Regions from separate parts of the Homo sapiens genome. Here region 2 is linked to region 1. The links are contacts of gene promoters, found by promoter capture Hi-C in human tissues and cell types (Jung and others, 2019). All regions are on one chromosome and are shown on one strand. The core of a region is centred on a gene start or on the middle of the fragment in contact, and the rest is flanking DNA. Distances in the headings are between cores, read along the strand shown. Region 1 holds the start of TBX4 (T-box transcription factor 4). Region 2 overlaps BCAS3 (BCAS3 microtubule associated cell migration factor).

The links. The method cuts DNA at HindIII sites, captures the fragments that hold promoters and counts their contacts. A contact is called where the count stands out against the background at its distance.
Region 2: a contact is called between a fragment that was not itself captured here and the fragment with the promoter of TBX4 in region 1, in 1 of the 25 tissues and cell types used here (mesendoderm cells).

The regions. Positions count from the first base shown.
Region 1 is chr17:61,448,707-61,455,621 of GRCh38, reverse strand. TBX4 (T-box transcription factor 4) reads right to left here and starts at 3,200. Exons shown (of 9, transcript NM_001321120.2): 1 at 3,045-3,200. It overlaps LOC124904042 (a long non-coding RNA gene), which reads left to right. Exons shown (of 2, transcript XR_007065872.1): 2 at 1-2,380. RefSeq lists enhancers at 1-706, 707-1,588, 2,389-3,230. The HindIII fragment of the contact is 13,471 bases long and covers 1-6,915 here.
Region 2 is chr17:61,073,911-61,080,825 of GRCh38, reverse strand. BCAS3 (BCAS3 microtubule associated cell migration factor) reads right to left here. Exons shown (of 24, transcript NM_017679.5): 20 at 5,806-5,906; 21 at 2,297-2,493. All of the region lies in intron 2 of BCAS3-AS1 (BCAS3 antisense RNA 1), which reads left to right. Among named protein-coding and RNA genes, the nearest start is that of BCAS3-AS1, 59 kb to the left of the region's middle. The HindIII fragment of the contact is 4,126 bases long and covers 1,070-5,195 here.

The sequences.
Region 1 (6,915 bases), core at 1,951-4,450:
GGGCCCATTCACAGGAACCGCTTAGCCCTGCCTGGCACAGCTACATTTCTTCGGCTGTCTTGGCTGATTCCCTCGCCTACTCAGGTGCCTGCTCCCTGCCCGAAGCAGGTCCTGGGGCCTCGGGATGAGAGCACAGCCTGAGAGGCCAGCCTGCCCGCATCCCTTAAGGGTGTGCCCCGCTTGCTCCGCTTCCCCTTTCCACCTCCCTGCTCTTCCCCATCCTGCTGGACCTGGGCGCTCCAGCGGAGCTTTCTGTAGGTCTGACGGCCCTTCTTGAGGCGGAATGCCCCGCCTTTCTCTTCCTACCTTCTTCCCGCTCTCCCCGGGCCCTCCCGGAGCATCCCCGGGCTCAGGCCTCTCGCCCATCTTGTTCAGAGGCCTCCTCATCCCGGGCTTAGACTTCGACTCCCAGGACCTCGCAAAGTAAACAAGCCAAGTGCAACCCAGGAGATAAAAAGGGGCCGGGGCCAGTCTGGGTTGGGAAAAACCCATAAAGATAAGGTTGACAGGCGGACCAGTCTTCGGCCACAGCCTGCAGGGAGTGAGACTCGCTGGACATGGCCAGCGCCAGCACCCGCCTCGGGCCACGTGCGAACGCGGGCCGAGCCTCGGAAACCTAGGAGTCCCCACACAGGGCCGCTGCGCCAGTAGGGTAGCTGCCCGCTCCGGCCAGCGCGCTGGGTCCAACTATATCTAGGGCCCCGGCGGGATCGGCTCCAGCGACCAAGCGATCCGCTGGTCCCAGATGTGGCGGCCTGCGGGGTCGCAAGGAGGGGCCGTCTCGCGCTTGGCCCGCATGGCCATGGGGTCCTCTGCTGGGCTCTTGTCACACCCGGAGCCGTGCAGCGGAGCCCTGCGGCTCGCGCCCTGCGCTCTCAGTCCTACGCGCTCAGCCCTGCCCTGTGAGGAGCTGGTTCACCGCCCGCGTCCACTGACGCCGGTCCCGCAGCTCGGACTGGGGACGAGGCCTGCTCAGTGCTCTCCCTCCCGGGCTCAGGGTTTGCCTCTTCCTTTTCTCTCCGCCACGAAGCCACATCCAGACCTCGGGACAGCTTGCCCCCTTCCCAGCAATTTCCTTTTTTCCACGCCCGGCTGGCCCGGGGCGGCCGTCCTCGCGGTCCTCTCGGACCTCGAGCTTGGGCGCGCTCGGCCGCCGCCAGCACCGCGGGGTCCCGCACTCAGCACCGCATAGCGGTCCGCTCTCGTCCTTCACATCCACTCCTCCGCGGGTGCGGCCCGCAACCTCCGCTGCCTTTGCGATGGGGTCTGTTGCTTTCAGCTGCCTCGTTTTCCAAAGACGACAGCATTTCTCTTTTCATTTTTAGGTTACTGGGGATATGTTTCTTGCACTAGGGGAACTGTTACTATTTCGTGCTTTTTAAAATATTTTAATTGTCCTTATTACCATAGTAGTATTTTGATCAGTTCGGGAACTTTGAGAATATCCTATCGCGTGGATTATTACTACTTTGTATCTTTAATACTGTATGGTTAAAGCCCTGCTTTGATTCGTTAGCTTACTGTTACTAAATTTGTTGTTTTCCTGTCACTGTTCCATCATTTCAGGGCCGCCTGGCACATTCATAATACTATTTCCAATATCGAGGTGACATAGTGAACAATAGGTCACGTTAATCTATTGTAATTTTTTATTCTTGCTTTGTATCCCTAATACGTTTCCGTTGCTTGCTCTTCATTTTGATTATACTTTGTCACGCTGTTTCAATAACTTCTTGTTTACCATAACTTGTTATATAATTGTTCTCAAAATTCATGTTAATTTCCCTCACATCCTTATAATACTTCTTGTTATCTAACCACAATTTGTTTTGTTAGGCTTGCTCATAACACTCCAGGTATTATTCTTCAACACACCCCGACAGTATCTTGTTACTTTGTCATTATTTGTAATGTTACAGATCTGAACTCGCTAGTTACTCATCACATCATTACTTCTTGTTATTTTGTCATACTTTGTAATATTGTTGTAGCTCTTAATACTCTGATTATTTTTCATCACATTGGTACAATACTTCTTATTACTCAACCATTATTTATAATGTTCTTGTGACTATTAATACATTGGTCATAAATTGTCATATTACTCCAGCAATTCTTGTTAATATGTCTTTATTTATATTACTATTGCTCCTAAGATTTTAGTTAATATTTCTTTTAATAGTTCACTGTAGTATCAATAATACATTATATTATTATATCACTACCACTAATAGTATTTCCCTTAATAGTATTTTCATTGTTCATCTTTCTCCTACAGTTCGTTTGCTAGTTTCCTACAGTTTGGTAATTTGTTACACTATTACTATATGTTATATTAGTGCAATTGGTTTTAATAAACAGTCCTTACATTGTTCCTCTATTTAGAATTACTTTGTCTTTAATCCTTTTAAAAATTGTGATTACTATTTTCACTTGATTCTGAAAGTGACTATGATTGTATTATTTGGAAGTTCACGTGTTATATCAGTTATGCCGATTAGCCCTTTCTTTGGTAATTGTTCACATTCCAATAATCTTTAATCATCGATCATTATTTATATATAATGTTCCTTGCTTTAATTTTGACTAGTCTATTGCATCAAAGGCTCTGAGTCTAGTGTTCTGATCACTCACATATCTACACGGATTTTCGCTCCAGTACCGGGGCCCTCTTCCTTGGCCTTGCATATTCTGCAAACACCAATTTCCAGGCCACCGCTCCGCCTGTCACGGCCTTGTTCTTAGGGTGCTGGCGCTGTCGATATTTCTATGCTCTTGGATCTCTAGACCCAATTCATCGCGTTACTCAGAGAGGAGGGCTCGTGCCCCAACTACTGGGTGTCGGGCCGAGGCGGCGGCCCGACCCAAGGCACTTCGCGCCGCCTTCCTGCAACTTTGACCGCCCCTGAAGTTCTTCCCCGGGTCGCGTGACTCACCCCTTTCCAGCTCATCCTCCTGTCCGTCCCCGCAGCCTAACCCTGAGCCCCTGTGGCCCCAGCCCCGCACGCCCAGCTCGTCCCCACTCGGCTGGAACCCACACTCACCCTAATTGCGGTGCCGCATGCGGAGGCGCCAGCGGCCCGAGGTCCCCTGCAGGTTCGGGTCCGAGGAGCGCGGGACGGCCGGGGCTCCGACTCCGCGCCGCTGGGTCAGGGTCCAGCTGCCTGCCGTGCCCTCGGGGCTGGACACATCCCGGCTCTGGAGCGGGCCCTTGATCTCCAAGGCTGCACTTTGGGGCCTCAATTCCCTCCTCCTCCCTCCCTCCCTCTGGGGCCGCCCCCCCTCCGCGCTGACGTCGCCGCTGTCAATCAGTCTGCGCCCGCTGTCCCCCGGGGAGGGGGGCTCCAGGGTTCCCCGGCGTCGCGGTCCCCAAGATCCCGAGCCCCACGCGAGCCGCCGGCTCCTCCACCGCGCGGCCCAGTGCCCTCCTCTTGGCCCTCGGGCCCCGCGAGCCGGGTAGGGGCTGGGAGCCCCGCATGGTTTAGATTAGAGAGGCGGGAAGCAAGGGCGAGCAGCCCGGCTCTCAGCCGAGGCTCGACAACCAGGAGGGCTCGCCTGGCCCCGCCGTGCCCGAAGACTAGGACGCTCCACGACCGGGTCTGGCCACCCCCTGCCGGCGCCCGCTTCCAGGCAGCGGCTTCTACGGATCCCCGGCCGCAGAGCCCCGCTCCCCAAGCCCTGCTCCCAGCTGTGCGCGCTGTTCATTTGGGAGCCCCGGTCCCGAGGTCGCAGGCGCACACGCGCCTCACAGGCCCACGCTCCGCTTCCCTACCATGCCCACCACGCGGCCTTGCACTTCCAGGCCCTGGGCACGGCCCTTCTGCTCACCCGCCCTCCTTGTCCCGGCCCAGGGGGCCGCGGGCGCTGGACCCGGCCTGGCGCGCCTCGAAGTCGGCCGCGGAGGTCAGGGGTGAGGACTGGGAGGAAGCCCGGTGGCCGGGTGCGGGGCGGCGGCGGCAGGGAAGTGCTGGGCCGGCCTCTGAGTGGAGCCGAGTCCGGCTCGGGCCTTGACAGAGCCCAGGCCGGGCTGCAAGGTGCCAGGCTTGGCAGAGCCTCCTGGGGAAACTGCGGCCCAGGGCCAGGATTCCGCGGCAGCTCCTTGAGATCCTGGAGAGCTGAAGAGGAAGCCCAATGCCTGCCCTAGTCTAGGAAGTGGAGACTGGGGAGCGTCCTGCTCCCAGCCACCCGGTTCTTTCCGCCTCAGAAACGGAGTCCCGCTCAGCACCTAGACCTCCCTGCCCAGCCTCTGAGCTCTCTGTCTCCACTTACCTCTGTTTCTCTCTGTCTGTACCTCCCACAGGACGCTGCCTTTCCACTAGCAGACGGACCCATGCGGACCCCAGCCCGTGCCCCAGCCTCCCCGCCTGTCACATGCCCAGAATCCTGGGGCAGAAATAGGCCTGCCCACCCATCTGCAAAGACAGCAGAATCCTCATCAATAAGGATCCCCAGAGTGGTCCCTTAGTGCTTAGCATGGGCTGCATCCCTCCCTCCACCAGTGTCCTCAACCAGCCTCTGTCCCTTTCCAGATTCTGACCTCAAAATCAGCTTGAAGGGGAGAGGACAGGGAAATTCTTTTCCTGGATGGGTCTGTCCCTGTTCTAATGCTAGGAAATGGAAAGCCAGCATCAATGCCTTCTTTACCACCCTGCACTCAAAGGTGGAAGCAAAAACGCCAACTCAGAAAAGCCAGTCGCTGCTGCTGTCAGGAGCCTGAAATCCACCTCAACAGTGGGCCGCTGCTCAAGTCCCTATCACCATTGCAGTACCAGGTCCCACCACCCTATCACCATTCCTCTCATGGAGTCTCAAACCAGGGAGGGGAAATAATATCTAAGAGGAGTGGAGGAGCAGAATCCTTCCCCAAACCTGCGGACTCCTGGAATGGAGAAAGGGAAGGCCCTGGCGTTTCAGGAGATGCCTGGGGAGTCGTGTTTCCTGTGTTAGGGAGACCTGGATGACATGCCTCAGCTTCTGCTCGCAAGCCCCCTCCCATGACCTCTCCAACAGCCTGTAGGGAAATCCCTTGCAAATAAATAGTATACAGACTAAGCAACCAACTACTGTGTGGAATGGTGAACAGGGAGGGCAGTGAATCACCAGGTACTATGGGAAGACTAGAGCTAGGCCAGACTCTGGAAAGAATTTGTTGACAGTCATTGGAGGAAGTTCATACTGAGATCGTATCGTATAGTTCTTTAATAAAACAAACAAACAAAAACAAACAAACTAGACTGGAACCTTCCTATAAGTGCAAGGCTTTCTGGAGACTGATGGCAGACAGTCTAAATTAATATCAACAGGTTCATGATGACATGGAGAAATGAGATATGGAAGGGACAGGTAAGCTTTTGGCAGTAAAAAGGAAGGGGCAAACCAGCCAGCAAGTGAGTAAATGAGAGCGGTTCTGTATGCACATTCCCCATTATTAGAATGGAATACCTCATTTAACTGACTCTAAGACACACATTTTTCACATTCTGGTATCTCTGAAACTGAGATGCATCTGATAGCTAGCGGTGTGTCATAGCTTAATTAGCAGCGTTTTTTCTTCTTAGTCGTATGTAAAATAATAGAAAAGCTTATAATGGATGCTGCATAGTATTTGCTGAAAAAGAGCCTGTGTAGAAGAGGAGAAGACCAATTTTTTTTTCTCCAAAACTACTTTGAGGAGTTCAAAATATGAAAACCCTCCTCAACTAGCTAAACAAATAACTGACGGTGCCACACATCGGTCACACTGATTTGGGTTGGCTTGGGGGAAAGTGCTCAGGTTTGGTAGCAGGCTCACCTTGGTTTTGAAACCTAGCTCTGATTCCTGGCTCACCATTTTGCAGCTATGTGACCTTGGGCAAGTTCATTAATGCTCATATAAAATGGGGATAATTACGCCAACCTACTAGCTTATTGTGAGGATTGCCTATATTAATGCATGGTTGATAAAGGCTAGCTCCCAAGTATTTTAAAAATTTATTCTACTTTTCTCTTTTCCGCAAAAGGCTTGAGGTGGTTTATAACCAGAATTAGCTAATAAAAACACAAGTAGAAAAACACATTAGGATCAAGGAAAAAGGAGTAAGCATATATGCTATCACTAAGTGCTGACAAAGTTGCTATAATTGAGAATAAAATCTGGCTTATGAGCCAGCAGAGCAACATGGTAGTTCTCTATATCAGAAATGTGGAAACAGTAACTCTTTGGTGAATGGTGAAGGAACAGACTTTGTCCTGGCCCTAAATTTTAAAAAGTAGTTTCTCGGCTGGTCGCAGTGGCTCATGCCTATAATCCCAGGACTTTGGGAGGCCTAGGCAGGCGGATCATTTGAGGCCTGGAGTTCAAGACCAGCCTGGCCAACATGGTGAAACACTGTCTCTACTAAAAATACAAAAATTAGCAAGACATGGTGGCGCATGCCTGTAGTCCCAGCTACTCTGGAGGCTGAGGCAGGGGAATCACTTGAACCTGGGAGGCAGAGGTTTCAGTGAGCCGAAATAGTGCCATTGCACTCCAGCCTGGATGATAGAGTGAGAGTCTGTCTCAAAAATAATAATAATAAATAAAATTTAAAAATAAAGAAAAAATAAAAGTAGTTTCTAATGTAAATGTTTATTGTTATATCGTACAGTGTTTTACCATTTACAAAGTGGTTTCACAGCTGCCATCTCATTTGATACTGTATTAACTCCATTTTTTTCTCTATTTTATGGATTCATTCATCCAAAGAAATATCAAATGCTTACTATGTGTTAGACACACAAACAGGAGGAAAGGCCAACTGACCATTCTGTTAGTTACCCAACTACTTGACTAACCCATCACTAACAGCAAATTCATTAATGAATGACCTGCAAGCTGAGTAATTAATCACCTAAATAATCAATCTCAGAGACAGCAGGGGCTACAGGATAAGTTGG
Region 2 (6,915 bases), core at 1,883-4,382, 370 kb after region 1:
TTAAAAGAAGATACATTCTTCTTGATGAATCGTTCTTTTTTTGTGTGTTGGTTTGTTTGTTGTTTTGAGACGGAGTCTCACTCTGTTGCCCAGGCTAGAATGCAGTGGCACGATCTCGGCTCACTGAAATCTCCGCCTCCTGTGTTCAAGCAATTCTCCTGCCGCAGCCTCCCGAGTAGCTGGGATCACAGGTGTGCACCACCATGCCCGGCTAATTTTTTGTATTTTTTGTATTTTTTTGGTAGGGTTTTGATGGGGTTTCATCATGTTGGCCAGGCTGGTCTCGAACTCCTGACCTCATGATCCACCCTCCTCAGCCTCCCAAAGTGCTGGGATTACAGGCGTGAGCCACCACGCCTGGCTGAATCATTCTTTAAGAAGATACATCAGTCAGGGGAAAGCAAAAATGTAAAAAGGGACAGCAGTTAGGAGTCTGTGAGATGTTGCTAGGGTGCTGGCATTAGGAATGGAGAGGAGTGGAAGGTTTCTAGATGTATTTTGAATAGAAATGACATAAGTTGGTGAAGAATTAGATGTGGCATCTGTGAAAGGAGAGATTTCAAGGATAACCTCTAGATTCTGTCTTGAGTAGGTAGTTTGTGGAGTAATTTAAAGAGATGAGGCCAGGTGCAGTGGCTCACGCCTGTAGTCCCCACACTTTGGGAGGCAGAGGCGGGCAGATCACCTGAGGTCAGGAGTTCAAGACCAGCCTGGCCAACATAGTGAAACTCCATCTCTACTAAAAACACAAAAACTAGGGAGGCGTGGTGCCACATACCTGTAATACTAGCTACTCAGGAGGTTGAGGTAGGAGAATCGCTTGAATACAGGAGGCTAGAATACATTCTAGATGTTGCAGTGAACTGAGATCGCACCACAGCACTCCAGCCCAGGTGACAGAGTGGGACTCAGTCTCAAAAAAAAAAAAAAAAAAAAAAAAAAATACTCATGCCTGTAATCCCAGCATTTTGGGAGGCCAAGGCGGGAGGATCACTTGAGGTAAGGAGTTCAAGACCAGCCTGGCCAAAATGTTGAAACCCCGTCTCTACTAATAATACAAAAATTAGCTGGGTCTGGTGGCGGGCGCCTGTCATCCCAGCTACTCAAGAGCCTAAGGCAGGAGAACTGCTTGAACCCAGGAGACAGAGGTTGCAGTGAGCAGAGATCACACCATTGCACTCCAGCCTGAGTGACAGAGCAAGACTCCGTCTCAAAAAATAAAATAAAAAATAAATAAAATAAAATAGAGATGACAAAGAATAGGGGTGAGAGCAGGATTAGGGAGTGAGATGAAGAGTTGCAATTCAGACCCAAGTAGGCAGCCGGCCGTACTCTAGGCTTATCTCCTGGCACCTCCTGGCAGGTACTCAGTAAATATGTGTCATATTTTCTAAACAGATACATCAGGCATAATCCAACTTTGCAACAATTTTCATCTTGTTATAAAAATTTTTTATTGTTACTGACAAAGAAGACAAAAACGTATTTCCACTATGTAACTGGAACATTTTTTCCCACTATTTTTTAAAAGGTGTGCAAGAAAAAGGTCAGAGGGTTGTTTTATATTCAATTCAAGATATACTATAGAGTTTTTTTTAAAGAGAAGACAAGAAAAGGGAGATTATATTACATTAGACTGAGTCCTTCATTATCTGTTGCACCCTAATGTGTCAAGTCTTGGTATAACAAATTAAACTGCTAAGCAAACTTGAGACTGCAAGTCAAAACTGTCTGAGTTGCAATTAAAAAAAAAAGCTAATAATAAAAAGCATAATTTGTACACCTGTCCTAGGATTCCTACAAATAAGGATGAGAGAACATGTATTATAAAAATATAGAAGATAAACTATAATTGAATTTATACCAACGTTTTTCCATCCAAAAACTTTATATAATCTAAAAGAAGGGAGATACAGGATTAGATAAAAATCACAGATGAAATTTAATTGAAAGGTGGTGCCAACTTCAGAAAGATCAGGAAAAGAATACATAATCAGATTCAAGCAGTTAGAAATATAAGCAAAGCATCAAAAAGTGGAATTGCTTGAAAAGTGCAGTGACTATTAGATTTAGGGAGAATATAATCTGAAAAGCAAGTATTTATTGCACGTAATGTGATCCCACGAGACCCTATATACCATCTCAAGTAATGACAGGGAATTACGTGCAACAGTACATGTAGTCTGCAACATGATACTGTGCCAAAAGGGGAAACCTAAATATTACATATGATGCTCATTTCACACGAACATATTAATCCTTTTGTTCAAATCACTCCCTAATTCTCATTTCCTACCTGAGACTGTTGAGATCAAGATCATCTGTATCAAAATCCAAAAGAGGCTGTGGCGTGTCACTCGGACCATGAGACTGCAACACAGATGAACTGGATGAGATAACTGTGGTTTGGCCTGAGGGATGGATGGTTTTGAACTGGAACTGTGGACCCATCCACAGACGTCTATGGGGTCCAGTGTGTGTTACAATTTCAACCTGGAATGGAGTAGCAATGATGATTTAAATGGTTTGTGATCCTGATTTGAGAGACTTCACAATCCCCCATTCTTCCTCTTAACACCCACATTCTTCAAGAAGCCCATGTTAAAGTGGCAAAGGGATAGGACACCCATAATTAAAAGGTGATGATAATCACAGCTGATGTAGACATTCAAAATATCCCTCTACTGCTTTTCATCAACATAAGCCAAAAATACATTTTGTGTACATATACATACACAGACACACATGCACACCTCACACACATATACAAGACAAAAATCACATGAAAGTAAAAGGACCAGTTGCTTGCCTCATATAACTAGTGTCAGCTCCGTAGGGTCTACCTTTTCATTCATTCTAGACAGTACTTACCATGTTGTGGGCATGCACTGAATACTACACCTATTAATCCACAGATTAAAAGCAATTCCTTCACTGAGGATCAAGCTTATGACAAACGTGAAGTTGTTCTTGAACCATCCAAGGAAAAGTAAAGGTCTGAAATAATTTTAATGCCCAAAGCCACTTTATTTCCACAATAAAATATTATAATATTTATTATACTGCCCTAATATTACCCCAATCCACTTTTAAATGAAAACATTATTATATATTTTCTCTCAAACTAGATTTTTGTCTTCCAAATACCATTAATTAGTGTGTTTTCTCAACTGCCACAAATATCGACACAGGCATTTGATGTGCTACAAAACAGTAATACCAAAATGCTTTATGAATTTCACGCTCAATGGGGGGGATAGGGAATGTTGCCAATATTTTATTTTATTTATTTTATTTCATTTTTTTTTTGAGACGGAGTCTCGCTCTGTTGCCCAGACTGGAGTGCAGTGGCGTGATCTCCGCTCACTGCAAGCTCCGCCTCCTGGGTTCACTACATTCTCCTGCCTCAGCCTCCCCAGTAGCTGGGACTACAGGCGCCCGCCACCACGCCCGGCTAATTTTTTGTATTTTTAGTAGAGACGGGGTTTCACCGTGTTAGCCAGGATGGTCTTGGTCTCCTGACCTGGTGATCCGCCTGCCTCGGCCTCCCAAAGTGCTGGGATTACAGGCGTGAGCCACTGCGCCCGGCCGCCAATACTTTATTAAACATTATAAAGTCAAAGAAGTGGGTAGAAGACACTTGGAAAAACCTGAAAATATATATATTACATGATTTTTTTTTTTTTTTACAAATAATCAACTCGAATGAGAGACTAAATATACAAACTAGTTTAAATGTCTTGTCAATGGTACATTCATGCCTGTGCAAATACTTTATGTAATTGACTTCCCACATGCCTTATTTTTGTCCTGAGTTCTTTTATATTTAATCACATTTCTCTGATTGTGGTGATTAATTCTTAACAAAACATAACTGAAAAGGTTCACAGAGTGTAGCCCTGTGTGAGTCCAAAAGGGCAAAAGCATCATGGTCTTTGGAACAATATTCACATTCCTACTAATCACAGGGAGAAAAATGCTCAGATTGAGGACAGTGATTTCTGATTCAAGTAGTTGTATTCAGCAATGTAAATTAGGCCACAGATAAAGCATTCTGTGTACTTTAAGCTCAAAACCATCAGTGTCACAGAGCCCAGAGGTAAACAGATGCCTGTTCAATTTCACCGAGGCGATGGCCAGATGTTCCTATTCACTCTCCTGTTGTGTGCCGGACAAACACATTGTATATACTTTCACACTGACAGCACACATTACCCCTTTTTCTAATTGAAAAGTTGAAGTGAAGGACAGTGGTTTCTCTGCCAGCATTCCTTGGACAACATTTTGATTTTGGAAAAAACACACATTTGGGGTTTACTTTATCTTCCTAACATTAAGAAAGGATGGACCGCCACATGCCAGGAACTGAAGAATCAACTTCCTTCAAGGAACTTCCTGTGAATATTTTTGGTGTGATGAAATAAATACATGTTACCTAGACACTGCTTGATTTTCCAGTTTACTTTACTTTTGATTTTCCAGACTTTAGTTTTCAGGCTACCCTCCTTGAGAAAGAAATGAAACTACAAATGGCCTCCACATTTTTGAGGCACCTGTCCGATGAAAAGCTGTCAGATTGGTAACCTGAGATAGGTCATTAGCTTCATAAAATGATGTCAGACTTGAGGCAGACATAACAGCATTTGTAATGAAGTCATTTGTAATCCCATCATTTTGACATCTGCCCAAGTATCTTTTATTTCAAAGCCCTTGAGATGAAGACAGCTTCACCTGGCAAGGGGAGGGATGGTCAGTGAAGCTGTTGGAGACTGGGCATGGTGGCTCTTGCCTGTAATCCCAGCACTTTGGGAGGCCAACACAGGAGGATTGCTTGAGCCCAGGAGTTCAAGACCAGCCTAAGCAACATAGGGAGATCCTGTCTCTACATTAAAAAACAAACAAAAAAAACAAATTAGCCAGCATGGTGATGCGTGCCTGCAGTCCCAGCAATGTTGTAGGGCTGGCTTAGAGACCACTAAAAGCAGCATTACATGGGCTTAGGAAAGGAAACCAAGGCACCATCAGAATTTCTGCAGGGTGGAATGTTATATTTCCAATAATGAAAGTATGAACTCAATCTTCGGAAAATGTTGGCTCCACAAAACAAATCCCAAAGATTGCTGAGTGGCTTCACTGTTTCATCAAGGTCAACTTTTATTTTAAACCTGATGAAAATGTGTTCCAAAGAGCCTATTTAAATTCCAAGCTCCTGGCTGGCCACAGTGGCTCACGTCTGTAATCCCAGCACTTTGGGAGGCCAAGAAGGGTGGATTGCTTGAAGTCAGGAGTTCAAGACCAACCTGGCCAACATGGCGAAACCCCTTCTCTACTAAAAATACAAAAATTAGCCAGGCATGGTGGTGCATGCCTGTAATCCCAGCTACTCAAGAAGCTGAGGCATGAGAATCGCTTGAAACCAGGAATTGGAGGTTGCAGTGAGCCAAGGTCGTGTCACTGCACTCCAGCTTGGGTGACAGAGCAAGACTCTGTCTCAAAAATTAATAAATTAATTGATTCCAAGGCCCTAAGGCTTTAAATGGATTGTGTGAAAAATACACAAATTTTATGCCATGTTTATGGAAGCTAACATATATATATATACACACACGTATAATGTATATATAATATGTATATGTACACCTGCAGCAATATTTGTGGAGTAATTTGTAATATGGAAAGACAACTAATTCTTGATAATCCAATAAAGAGTTACCAATTCTCCCCTTTTACCTCTAAGGAAAAGAATAAAAACAGTAAATTTCTGTTTTATTTTACTTTAATACTCTCAATATTTCAGAGTTTTACCTGGGAAAGCCATTCTTCATCTTCCTGTCCACTATGGTCAGAAGCTAAACTGTCGTAAGACCCATGTCGAGTAATGGGCCCAGGACTTCCAGGGGGAACCACTATAGGAGAAAGAAAATAGATTTAAACCACTTCATTCCATGCAGTGGAAAAACAGACGTGGGCACAACCATTTTGGATACTATGGTAATTTATAAGATAAAATATAATACTTTAAAGCAAAAAGGCAATTCAAACAATTATTGAACAAGTAAGAATGAAGTTCTTAGGAATAAGATACTTTAAAAAATATCTACAGAAATTTAGTAATGCCATCTTCTTGCAATAAAAGAAATAAACAACTAACTACATATGCTAATAGCAAAAGTACACTGAAGAGCAGCGACAAATCTATTCATTGGGGGATGACATTAGGATTCTTTAAAAGAGTTTATTTAGTAGCTTCATATAAATGCTAGGCATAAACATGCACACTTAATAGAAAAAATGCTTTCAGTCCTAAAAAAAATTCATTTATCCAGAGAAATACATCATCTTTCTTAGATACCTGAGTAGTTTTCATGATTCTTAAGTGGTATGACATAGTCAAATTACAACAGCCTACTTTTTCATTCAAATAGGAACATTTGCTTAGTAAAACAATACAATGATTCAAAAATATTTACTGAGTTCCTAATATGAACCAGATATTATCTCCTCAAAATCTTAGTCTCTTCTTTGGAAGCTACGACTCACTCACTCTGTCTGTCTCCATGTCTCTAAAGGTATTTTTTTCTTTTTTTCTTCTTTTTTTTTTTAACAGCAGTTTTAGGTTCACAGCAAAGTTGAGCTAAAGATACGGATATTTCCCATATAACCCCCCAACCTCATACATGATTGTATTTAATCTTTTTTTTTTTTTTTTTTTCTTAAGAGATAGGATCTTGCTGTGTTACACATGCTGGATTACAGTGGCATGATCATAGCTCACTGTAACCTCAAACTTCTGGGCTCAAACCATCTTCTCACCTCAGTCTAATAAGTAGCTGAGACTACAGGCATGAGCTACCAATGCCTGCCCAATATTTTCTTCCTTGTAGAGACAGGATCTCACAATGTTGACCAGGCTGG